Linked DNA regions of Homo sapiens: region 2 is linked to region 1. Evidence: promoter capture Hi-C in 16 types of primary human blood cells and fetal thymus (Javierre and others, 2016). All regions are on one chromosome and are shown on one strand. The core of a region is centred on a gene start or on the middle of the fragment in contact, and the rest is flanking DNA. Distances in the headings are between cores, read along the strand shown.

Region 1 (5,507 bases), core at 1,973-4,472:
CTGGGAGGAGGCCGGCCTCGGTGAGCCCTTGGGGGGAAGCAAGGCTCTGGGAGGAGGCCGGCCTCGGTGAGCCCTCGGGGAAGTAAGGCGCTGGGAGGAAGCTGGCCTCAGTGAGCCCTCGGGGAAGCAAGGCTCTGGGAGGAAGCTGGCCTCGGTGAGCCCACAGTGGGGAAGCAAGGTGCTGGGAGGAAGCCGGCCTCGGTGAGCCCTCGGGGGGAAGCAAGGCTCTGGGAGGAAGCTGGCCTCGGTGAGCCCTCAGGGGGAAGCAAGACTCTGGGAGGAGGCCGGCCTCGGTGAGTCCTCGGGGGGAAGCAAGGCTCTGGGAGGAGGCCGGCCTCGGTGAGCCCTTGGGTGGAAGCCGGCCTTGGTGAGCCCACAGGGGGGAAGCAAGGCGCTGGGAGGAGGCCGGCCTTGGTGAGCCCACGGGGGGAAGCAGTGTGCTGGGAGGAAGCTGGCCTCGGTGAGCCCTCGGGGGGAAGCAAGGCTCTGGGAGGAGGCCGGCCTTGGTGAGCCCTCGGGGGGAAGCAAGGCTCTGGGAGGAAGCCGGCCTCGGTGAGCCCTCGGCGGGAAGCAAGGCTCTGGGAGGAGGCCGGAGTTGGTGAGCCCTCGGGGGGAAGCAAGGCTCTGGGAGGAAGCCGGCCTCGGTGAGCCCTCGGGGGGAAGAAAGGCTCTGGGAGGAGGCCGGCCTTGGTGAGCCCTTGGGGGGAAGCCGGCCTTGGTGAGCCCACAGTGGGGAAGCAATGTGCTGGGAGGAAGCTGGCCTCGGTGAGCCCTCAGGGGGAAGCAAGGCGCTGGGAGGAGGCCGGCCTTGGTGAGCCCTTGGGGGGAAGCCGGCCTTGGTGAGCCCACAGCGGGGAAGCAAGGCTCTGGGAGGAAGCCGGCCTCGGTGAGCCCTCGGCGGGAAGCAAGGCTCTGGGAGGAGGCCGGAGTTGGTGAGCCCTCGGGGGGAAGCAAGGCTCTGGGAGGAAGCTGGCCTCGGTGAGCCCTCGGGGGGAAGCAAGGCGCTGGGAGGAGGCCGGCCTTGGTGAGCCCTTGGGGGGAAGCCGGCCTTGGTGAGCCCACAGGGGGGAAGCAATGTGCTGGGAGGAAGCTGGCCTCGGTGAGCCCTCGGCGGGAAGCAAGGCTCTGGGAGGAGGCCGGAGTTGGTGAGCCCTCGGCGGGGAAGCAAGGCTCTGGGAGGAAGCCGGCCTCGGTGAGCCCTCAGCAGGAAGCAAGGCTCTGGGAGGAAGTTGGCCTCGGTGAGCCCTTGGGGGGAAGCTGGCCTTGGTGAGCCCACAGTGGGGAAGCAAGGCTCTGGGAGGAAGCCGGCCTCAGTGAGCCCACAGTGGGGAAGCAAGTCTCTTGGAGGAGGCCGGCCTTGGTGAGCCCACAGTGGGGAAGCAAGACTCTGGGAGGAAGCCGGCCTCGGTGAGCCCTCGGGGGGTAGCTGGCCTCGGTGAGCCCTCAGGGGGAAGCAGGGCTCTGGGAGGAAGCCGGCCTCGGTGAGCCCTTAGGGGGAAGCAAGGCACTGGGAGGAAGCTGGCCTCGGTGAGCCCTCGGGGGAAGCAAGTCTCTTGGAGGAAGCTGGCCTCGGTGAGCCCTCGGGGGAAGCAAGGCTCTGGGAGGAAGCTGGCCTCAGTGAGCCCACAGTGGGGAAGCAAGGCTCTTGGAGGAGGCCGGCCTCGGTGAGCCCACAGTGGGGAAGCAAGGCTCTGGGAGGAGGCCGGCCTCGGTGAGCCCACAGTGGGGAAGCAAGTCTCTTGGAGGAGGCCGGCCTCGGTGAGCCCACAGTGGGGAAGCAAGTCTCTTGGAGGAGGCCGGCCTCGGTGAGCCCACAGTGGGGAAGCAAGTCTCTTGGAGGAGGCCGGCCTCGGTGAGCCCACAGTGGGGAAGCAAGTCTCTTGGAGGAGGCCGGCCTCGGTGAGCCCACAGTGGGGAAGCAAGGCTCTGGGAGGAGGCCGGCCTCGGCAGCTCATTACCTGTAAATAATACTGTTCACCGAGAAGGTACGCCCATCGAAGGAGTTGGCCACCACCAGGAAATAATCTTCTCCCACCGAGAAAAACTCCCAGTCCAGAGCACTGCAGGAACAAGTGGGTGGATATTAGGACACAACAGACATCGCCAGGGAACTGGGGGATTGGCCAGAAGCTACCTCCAAAATTTATAGAGGAGGAGCCGGGGCCAAAGTGGGGAGTGATTTTCTCACAGTCACATATGTGTTGGTCTATTCCAGGAAAATGTAAATTAGTTGTTTGCTTAAAAAAAATTTCAAATTTTATTTTATTTTATTTTTGAGATGGAGTCTCATTCTGTCACCCAGGCTGGAGTGCAGTGGCGAGATCTCGGCTCACGGCAACCTCTGCCTCTCGGATTCAAGCGATTCTCCTGCCTCAGCCTCCCGAGTAGCTGGGATTACAAGTGTGCGGCACCACGCCCGGCTAATTTTTGTATTTGTAGTACAGACAGGGTTTCACCATGTTGTCCAGGCTGGTCTTGAACTCCTGACCTCAAGTGATCTGCCCACCTCAGCCTCCCAAAGTGCTGGGATTACAGGCATGAGCCACCATGCCTGGCCTCAAATTTTAAATTATGGTAAAATACATATAACATAACATTTCCCACCTCAACCATCTTTAGGTGCACAGATCAGGGGCATTAAGCACATTCATACTGCTGTGTGGCCGCCCCCACCATCCACCTCCAGAACGCCTTCATCCTGCAAAACCGAAGCTCTGCACCCAGTAAACATCACCCCCTCCCCCCTCCCCCCCCCCCCCCCCCCAGCCCCGGCACCCACCACGCCACTTTCTGTCTCTATGAATTTGACCACTCTAGGGACCTCATATGAATGGAATCGCACGGTATTTGTCCTTTGTGTCTGCCTTAGCTGAGACTCCAGTGACTCAAGGTTCATCCGTGTCGCACTGTGTGTCAGAATCGCCTTCCTTTCTAAGGCCGAGTAACGCTCCGCTGTGTGAATGGACACGTTGTGTTTGTCCATCCGCTGACAGACACTTGGGGAATTTCCTCCATGTGGCTACTGTGAATGCTGCTGCTATGAACACCGGGGTACAAAAGTCCACTTTTAAGAGGTTGAAACAATCAGAGAAAAAGTCTCAGGCTGCTGGTGCCTGCTGGAGGCAGGAGCTTGGTTTCCCGCTCTGGACACTGTGCAGAAATGGCGTCACAGTGCTGTGGCCTCTGTGCCTGGTTTCTTCTCTCAGCATTGTGTCTTCAGCTGTGAGGTCAGCGGCCGTGAGGTCACTCCAGGAGGTGCCTACAGGACCTGCAGGACCTGCTCGTTCACAGATGTTCTCCTAGAAGCAGAAGCTGTTTCTTGTTGCAAACAAATTTGCTGTGTCCTGTCTTAGGAGTCTCACCTGAATTTACCAAGGATGCATCTGTGCTTGGGGATGGCTCGGTTTGAGGGGTCTGAGGAGCGGCTCCCCTGGATCCTTTCCTCCCCAGGAGCCCACCTGCCGAGCTGTCAGCGTCAGCCCCACATCTCAAGATGAGGAAATGGAGGTCGAAGCCATGCACACGCAGGCGTCCTGCTGACATGCAGGCCAGGCGGGTGCCTCTGTATTCAGCAGCCTCAGGGCTGTGGCCAGTTCAGGCAGCAGAGGGGCCTCATCCCGGTGCTTCCCTGCAGGCAGTTGTGGGGCCGGCCTGCAGCAGGGGCTCAGACAGGGCCTTGGGAGAGGGAGGGATCACAGAGGTGTCCAGTGACAGGCAGGGCGGGCAGAGCCCATGGGGCCTTGGGCTCCTCACTCCTTCGGTCAGTCAGGGTGACATCTGGAGCCACCTCCATTAATGGTGGGTTATGATTTGGTTCCCATGCAGCCCGTGCCAGCTCGCTGGGAGGAGGACGAGGACGCCTGTGATCACATGCTCTGGTCTGGAGGCACGGCCGCGGGCCCCGGGTCAGTGTGAATCCGCGGGGTTACTCCTCAGTCGGATCTGAGCTCTGAAACCCAGACCCGAGGAAGACAAGCGGCCACGTCGGATGTACCAGTGGTGGAAGATCCTGTCCGGCTGCACCGAGGCTCACATCAGAAGCCGGCTTCGGTTTCACCACAAAATAAGGCATCTAGTGCCCGATTCTGCCTCCAAAGCAGCCCTGGGTCACACTCGCTGTAGGACAGATGTTATTCTTCAGAATCACGCCCTCTGGCAAATGCCCATCATCGGACAAATGGACGGATGAAGTGTGACTCAGCCATGAGAAGGGGGATGCTCTGAGCCGCGCGGCCACACCACCAACCCGGAGGACACGGTGCTGCGAGAAAAAGCCAGGTACAGAGGCCACGGCTCTACGAGTCCATTTCTGTGCAGTGTCCAGAACGGGAAATCACAGAGACAGGAAGTGGGCCCGGGGGTGCCCAGTTGGGAGGGAGGGGCTGGAAAAGGGTGTGGGGGGCTCCTTGTGAGGGGATGAGAATGTTCCAGAGTTGTCTGCAGCCATGGCTGCACATATCTGTGGATTTAATAGAACTACTGAATCTAAAAAGCAAACACAAGCGACCATTTGAAGGCAGTCAGAGCCAAGGTTACACACAGAAGCCACAAAACCCCTCAGCGCCCTTGAATAGGGTTTTGGACTTGGTGAGGCCACATCACGTCTCCGGGAAGTGTAGGGAATTCCCCATGCTGGGTAGAAGGGCTAGGAGTTTGACTTGTGTGTGCTGTTTTGATGGTAATTATTAAACATTACCTTAATTAATTGGTAAGTACTTTCTGTGTTTCATAATTTAGTTCATAAACTGTCCATACCACTGTCCAGTGGTGACAGGGCCATAAGTCGCGAGTGTGTAGCTGTGTTCTGTCAGTTCCCGCAGCTTTCAAATCCCGAGGCGTCTGCCTCATCTGTTTCTAGACTGGGCATCATGTCCATGACTAATTTTTAATCACAATTCATTCTCCAACTTGTCTTATTCTAAATGTTGTTCTAAAAAGCCTAATGTTTGTTTTGTTCTCGGCGTTGACATTGGATGGCGTGGATTCGTGCTGGGGACACACAACTGCCACCGCCGCCCCGTGCCTGTTTCTCCTGCCATGGCTGCCAGGCCACGCAGGGGCCACGGAGCCCACAGGCAGGTCACCCCGGAATCCCCAGTGCCCCCAGCAGACACCGCCGCTGGCTCTTTTTCTTTATTATGAGTGTTCTTTTTTTAATTTTTAAAAATCATATAAGTAAGATATTAGTAAGTTAACATTGTCATCCTTTGTAAAGCCAGGAGTTCAGAAGTAACAGGGCAAATAGGGAAAGTCCTTCCTGGCCTGTCTACATACCCCTGCAGCCCTCCCGGTCCTAGGGTGACTGCTGACGGAGAGGGCACTCCCTTCCCGAGTCTTCTCTGCACGTCCGTGGGCACGCACAGCTGAGCGGCACACAGCAGCCCGGCTCGCTCCTCCGCACTGGGGACACAAGATTTCACTGCACCTCACCCAGCCCTTTCCACAGAGCAGTTCATCTTGGAGACTCTTCCCCTCGAAGGGTCTAAAGGTATGTGTTGTTGTGTGTC
Region 2 (5,507 bases), core at 1,206-3,705, 620 kb after region 1:
CATGACAAAAAGACTCCGGTGTTTTTGACCATCTTTTATTGCGCCCCTACTGTGATCTTAGTCACGGGGCCAAGCACTCTACATCTGTTCCTCCATTTAATCCTCACGGCACCATCTGCGGCGGGTGTTCCTTGTGTCCTCGTCCTGTCCTCATAGGAGCAAGCCTGGAAGGGGCTGAGTCACTGTTCAAGTCACACGACTGCAAGGCTGAGGTCTAGGGTGGTGGCCTGGACCCCTCTTTCCTGGAAGCCATGCTTTTCCTGAAACCCCTTGCAATACTCCTGGCAAGTATGGCAGTTTTACCTCAGTTGGTATGAGTGTACTCAAATGGGAGGCAACCATTCTCACACTTGATGTTTAGACTTTGCAGCTTCCAAAACCCACTCTGCATATCACCTGCTCCCTCCTCAAAGTGGCTGGGCTTCCCATGCAGTTTCCCATCCTGCAGACGGCCCAGGGAGGTCAGATTTCTTGGCCAGGCTTGCAGAGTTGGTGGGACATGATGTGGGCACTAGAACCCAGTTCTGTAAATCTTGGTTTCATGTCCTTTCTGCTGTGTTTTTCTTTCTCTGTTTAGGCGGTGGACTTTTTGGTGTGTAAAGCTTCTAGAATGGATTTTACTTCTTTGTGGCTCTTTGGATTGAGGGAGGGGCTAGGTGCCATCTCCAGAGAAGCTTGTTCAGCTCATGCTCACTCGGGGCCCTTGCTCTCTGCCCACTGGGGAGGGGCTGTGGTGGAGCTGGATTCGGACTGAGTGGAGGCAACGCTGAAGGTCAGAGGCCAACGTCCTTGCACTTCTTGACACTCTCCACCCAGGCGTGGTGATTGGGACCGCTGGGGAGGGTGATTTGGGAGCTTGAATCTGGTGTGGGGATGATGGGGGTCATTGATAGTGGGGACAGTTCTGGACATGTGGCCCTCATTCTCTGTGCTGGACAAGATGACTCTGTGACCTGTAATTCCAGGCTGATAGAGCATTTTCAGTGACAGCCCATTTGACTTGATGGTGCTAGTGCAGGACACAGGTGAGCTTGTCTCTGTGTCTTAGGTCTGTCCCAGCAGACGAGCTGACGTGTGTTGTAGATGAATGTCAGCTGGTCACAGGTGGGAGGTTTGGAAGGTAGCCTCCAATCTCCTCTGAGGACTGCAGCAGCGACCGGGGCAGCAGGAACGCATTGTGATGGCCTGGCCAAGTCTGCATAGCGAGAGTCGAGCCACTTTCACGCGCACCTTATCCCACACTTCACCTCCTTCCTCCAGGTTCCCACTCAGAAACCCGCTCACCCCTGGACACACCTCCCAGAGACTTCTCTTTGGAACTCTGCAATGGAGAAACCCATTGCAGACTTCCCCTTCTTTTGGATATCAGTTTGCTTTTCAGGAAGAAAATTTTAATACTCCATATTGAGGTTTTATAATTATATTAGCATGTTGAAACATTTTCTCTAATGGCTTGCTGGTTGAAAACGCTTTCACACAGAGCAGAAACTAGATGGAGATACTGTTTCACAACCTCTGCTTCAGAAGCAGAGGTGGCCTGTAGCTTCCAAACCCGGGCAGAGCACGTGCAGGGATGGTGCGTCTCTGTATCTGGACTCACATTCACATGTGTGCATGTGTAGGGGTGTGTGCATATTGAATTGTAAAAAAGATGAGTACGTGTGAGATTCTGCCTGAGACTCCAGTCCTCAGTGTGTGGCCTGGTGCCGCTGATGCCGAGATGTTGGGCTGGCAGCGATCTGCCTCCGTCTGTCACAGGTGCCTCTACCTGCTGCAGGCAGACGGACGGAGACGTGATGGATTGCGCATATCCCCTTTACAGATTCGGAAGAGTACATTTAAAATAACTTAAATTTGTATTTAGAAGACTTTTCATGGAGAGTATTTATTGTTATAGAGTTCACTTCTGAAATGGTGACAAAGCTTTTGATACTGAATCAAACAAGTGTGAAGTTACCGAATCTCTCTGTTACACAGAGTGGAGCCTTTCAGGCTGGCATGGAGAGCTTAAGGGGCAACTGAAGGAGACACACTGGCCAAGCGCGGAGTTCTGCTTACTTCAGTCCTGCTGAGATACTCTCTCAGTCCGCTCGCACCGAAGGAAGCTGCCTTGGGATCAGAGCAGACATAAAGCTAGAAAAATTTCAAGGTGAGTAAAAACCTGTAAAGATCTGATCAAATCTGACTGGTAGAAATGCCTTTTTCTTGATATAAACCGCTTAATTAAGCCTTTTGGCTTGCCTTTGAAAGATGCTTTATTGAATACTTCCCGGCACAGATGATCTGTTACTGTTGGTTGATTTCTAATCTTACTGCAGCCTTAGCTCACCCATGAGTCCCTCCTGCTTGTTCTGGGGTGGTGCCTGCTGCCCTCCAGTGGCATGTGTGGCACCTGCTGCCCTCCAGTGGCATGTGTGGCACTTGCTGCCCTCTTTGGGGTCAGTTCACCATTTATTGAGTCAGTGCTTCATGCCGGGCACTAGACTTGGTGAAAGCCTTTTACCATCAATTATTATTTTCTTAGGAGTAATTAAAAGAAAATTTTCCTGTAATCCCAGCACATTGGGAGGCTGAGGCAGGCAGATTACTTGAGGCCAGGAGTTTGAGACCAGCCTGGCCAACGTGACGAAACCCCATCTCTACCAAAAATACAAAAATTAGCCAGGTGTGATGGTGCACGCTTGTAGTCCCAGCCTCGGGAGACTGAGGCAGGAGAATCGCTTGAACCCGGGAGGCAGAGGCTGCAGTGAGCTGAGATCATGCCGTTGCATTCCAGCCTGGGTGACAGAGCAAGACTCTTTCTCAAAAAAAAAAAGAAGAACATTTCTTTAGTACTTATTTTTGGCGACTATCTCATGATTCAGCGTCTGCTTTTGAGAGAAGTTGTGACAAATACTAAAATCCCAGTAAAATTAGTATGGTGTCAGATTAATTTACTTATGAGCAGCTGAGTGACTAACTCAGGAAGTCCAGTTGTACATTTCCAGGGAAGCTTTTTCATGGGTTCAGATGAGATGAGGGGAAAGAGAAGGTGTCAGAGGGCTGCTGCTGGCTGGAGGAACGCAGGTGTGCTCCTGTGTCCATTTGCTCTGTGGATACTGACGAGCGCCCACTGGGCCTCAGATGCCCTCTGGGCATGGCAGGGACCAGGCGCTCGCTTGGCAGCTCTCATGTGAGCCGCTCACTGGACACAGCCGTGCTCCCGCCTGGGAGTTCGGGATGGCATGCAGAGCTGTGGGGAGGGAGCGGTCACCAGGGCGTGAGTGTGGACAGATGGGAGTGGCTGGTGCAGAGCCATAGGTAGGGGGCGGTCACCAGGGCGTGAGCGTGGATGGATGAGAGTGGCTGGGAGCCTAGGGGGGACGCCGTCTTTGGGGAGTAGAGACACACCCATGTCTGACTACTGGGTTTTGAGTTTGTGCCAGCAAAGGTCCTGCTTGCCATTTCTGTCTGTAAATGTCAGGAATTTCAGGTAACTGGTTCCCTAGCGAGACCTTTAAAGGAGGCTTTATCTTCAACCGATGCTTTTTTTGGGGGGGTACACAGGCAGTCCAAGTATGGGAAGGTCAAAATCAGGTCACCTTTATCATGGCTTGTGCTGTGGGATGGGATTTTATTTTCAGCCACAGCGCTTCTTCTAGCTTAATTAGTGATAGGAAATCAGCTTCTCTGTAACCAGAGGTTATTGAAAGAATGAGGATCCCAGAGTTGGAATGAGTCTGAAAGAGACGTTGTGGTTTAATATTGCTAAGTTAAGTGTCGATTTGTGACTACCTATTTTTAACATGCCACAGAAGTAAAACATTGCATTAATTATGCCATATATGTGAAATAGCAAGTATTTTTATATAATATAACTGTGCATTGGAGAAATGAATTATTTATAATCCTTTGCACCAATAAATTGTTCTTAAAAGCATAGAAAAAATAATCAGGCCAGAAGGAGATATCTAAAGCATGTGCTGAGAAAGCAAAACTGAAGAGCTGGAAATTATAAAATATTACGACATGATGAGTCATATCTCCTCCTCCTGATTCTGTGTTACTAAATGCTAGCTGCGAATAGAAATCGTGTATTTCCTTTCTTTCATAAAATAAGAGCTAATTTCGGCAGCAAACAGTTTGGCGTGTTATTCTTTTCCCTTTTCAGGGTGGTTTAAATAAAAATAAATAAACATGAAAGATTTTGGCTGGAACATCTTTGGAAGCACGGCCGTCCTCAGCCTCACTGCACTGTCTGGTTTCCCTCTGAGCCTCCCTCCCGGGTCCTGCCTTAGTGCTGTCTGTGCCGTGTAGCCACAGGTCGCACTGCAGGGCTGTGGGGAGTTATTTTTAGTTTCAGGCAGACTCACTGTTTTTGCCTTTCTTTTTGCTTGAAAAGACTGAAGTTATTTCTTGTGTTTTTATACATGAGATTATCTTCTGAGGCTGGAACATCTTGGGGGGATACAATAGATAGAATTCCTATAGTAATTCCCCTGCGCAAGAGGAATTGCTGAGGAGGGCTTCGGGAAACCTTGACTCTTGTTGAAGCCTGGAAAGCTTTCTCAGTCTTTCTCATTGCCACCCCACACCACATCTTCTTTTTGTAACAAATATTTATTAACTCATCTTTTTATTTTAAAATGAAGTTCACAGAAGATATTACCTTATATAATTATAGCCATATAATGTTAAAAAGCAGTGTCATGCTGAAATGTAATATAAAGAGAAACTGAAGATACATAATAAAATAGTTTTCTATGCCACTGTATGGACATTTAGGCACTGCTGCTTTCACTCGGATCACTGAGTGGTGTGGGCCTGTCAGTGCAGGCAGATGTGGGGTAGGTACTGAGCTGGTGACCTGAAAACCATAAGCAATAGAGCTGAGTGGCATTACTTTCTGAAATGGTCAAACCTGAAGGAAGCAGTGTTCAGTCTTCCCTGTCTCTAGGTAGTCTCTGTATTTCTGGAACATTGAGTGTATGTTAAAAGTATAGAAAAATGCATTGTGTCAATCCAAAACTCAGCTGGGCTGGGCTTAGAGAATTATGAGCAGCCTTTCCACCTGCATGGAAGTCCTTTTGTGCAGGACAGTTCCTTGTTTCCGGGGTGGCCCTGCTCCCTCCAGGAGGTTTAGGAGTGCCCATGTCACCATGATGCCTACGCCACTTCTCATGTTGCTACCTGTTGCTACCACCGGGCATCGCTGCCGCCTCCTGCTCTGTGCACAGTGTGGTGTGGCCGCCTGACCGACTGGTCAGGAACTAAAGTTCTCTCGAAGCCTTGACTGAAAGGAGAAGTGAGGAGGGGCATGGAGCCCAGTGCCAAGAGGCAGCTGCGTCTTTAGGGGCTGGCACTTTTCAGAGGGGCTCTTGGGGCCAGAAGGAAAGAGCCGTCATTCAAGGCTTACACAGCGTGGAGGTGCCCTCCCTGGGGTGTCCTGTGTGCTGACCTCTGTCCTGGTGCCTGGCGGTGTCCTGGCGCAGAGCTCCGCAAGCCTCTGCGGGGCTCTTCTCTGTGTG

Evidence for each region. Contacts are between HindIII fragments. The CHiCAGO score rates a contact against its expected background, and 5 or more counts as called.
Region 2: a fragment that was not itself captured here is called in contact with the fragment with the promoter of TSPEAR-AS1 in region 1 in 1 of 17 cell types (fetal thymus); the score reaches 5.2 in fetal thymus.

What each region holds. Positions count from the first base shown.
Region 1 is chr21:44,502,822-44,508,328 of GRCh38, forward strand. It overlaps TSPEAR-AS1 (TSPEAR antisense RNA 1), which reads left to right and starts at 3,223. Exons shown (of 7, transcript NR_103707.1): 1 at 3,223-3,507; 2 at 3,826-4,278; 3 at 5,216-5,488. TSPEAR (thrombospondin type laminin G domain and EAR repeats) reads right to left here. Exons shown (of 12, transcript NM_144991.3): 11 at 1,959-2,060. RefSeq lists an enhancer at 341-860. The HindIII fragment of the contact is 6,455 bases long and covers 1-5,507 here.
Region 2 is chr21:45,126,425-45,131,931 of GRCh38, forward strand. It overlaps ADARB1 (adenosine deaminase RNA specific B1), which reads left to right. Exons shown (of 11, transcript NM_001112.4): 2 at 1,978-2,149. Among named protein-coding and RNA genes, the nearest start is that of ADARB1, 55 kb to the left of the region's middle. The HindIII fragment of the contact is 1,069 bases long and covers 1,922-2,990 here.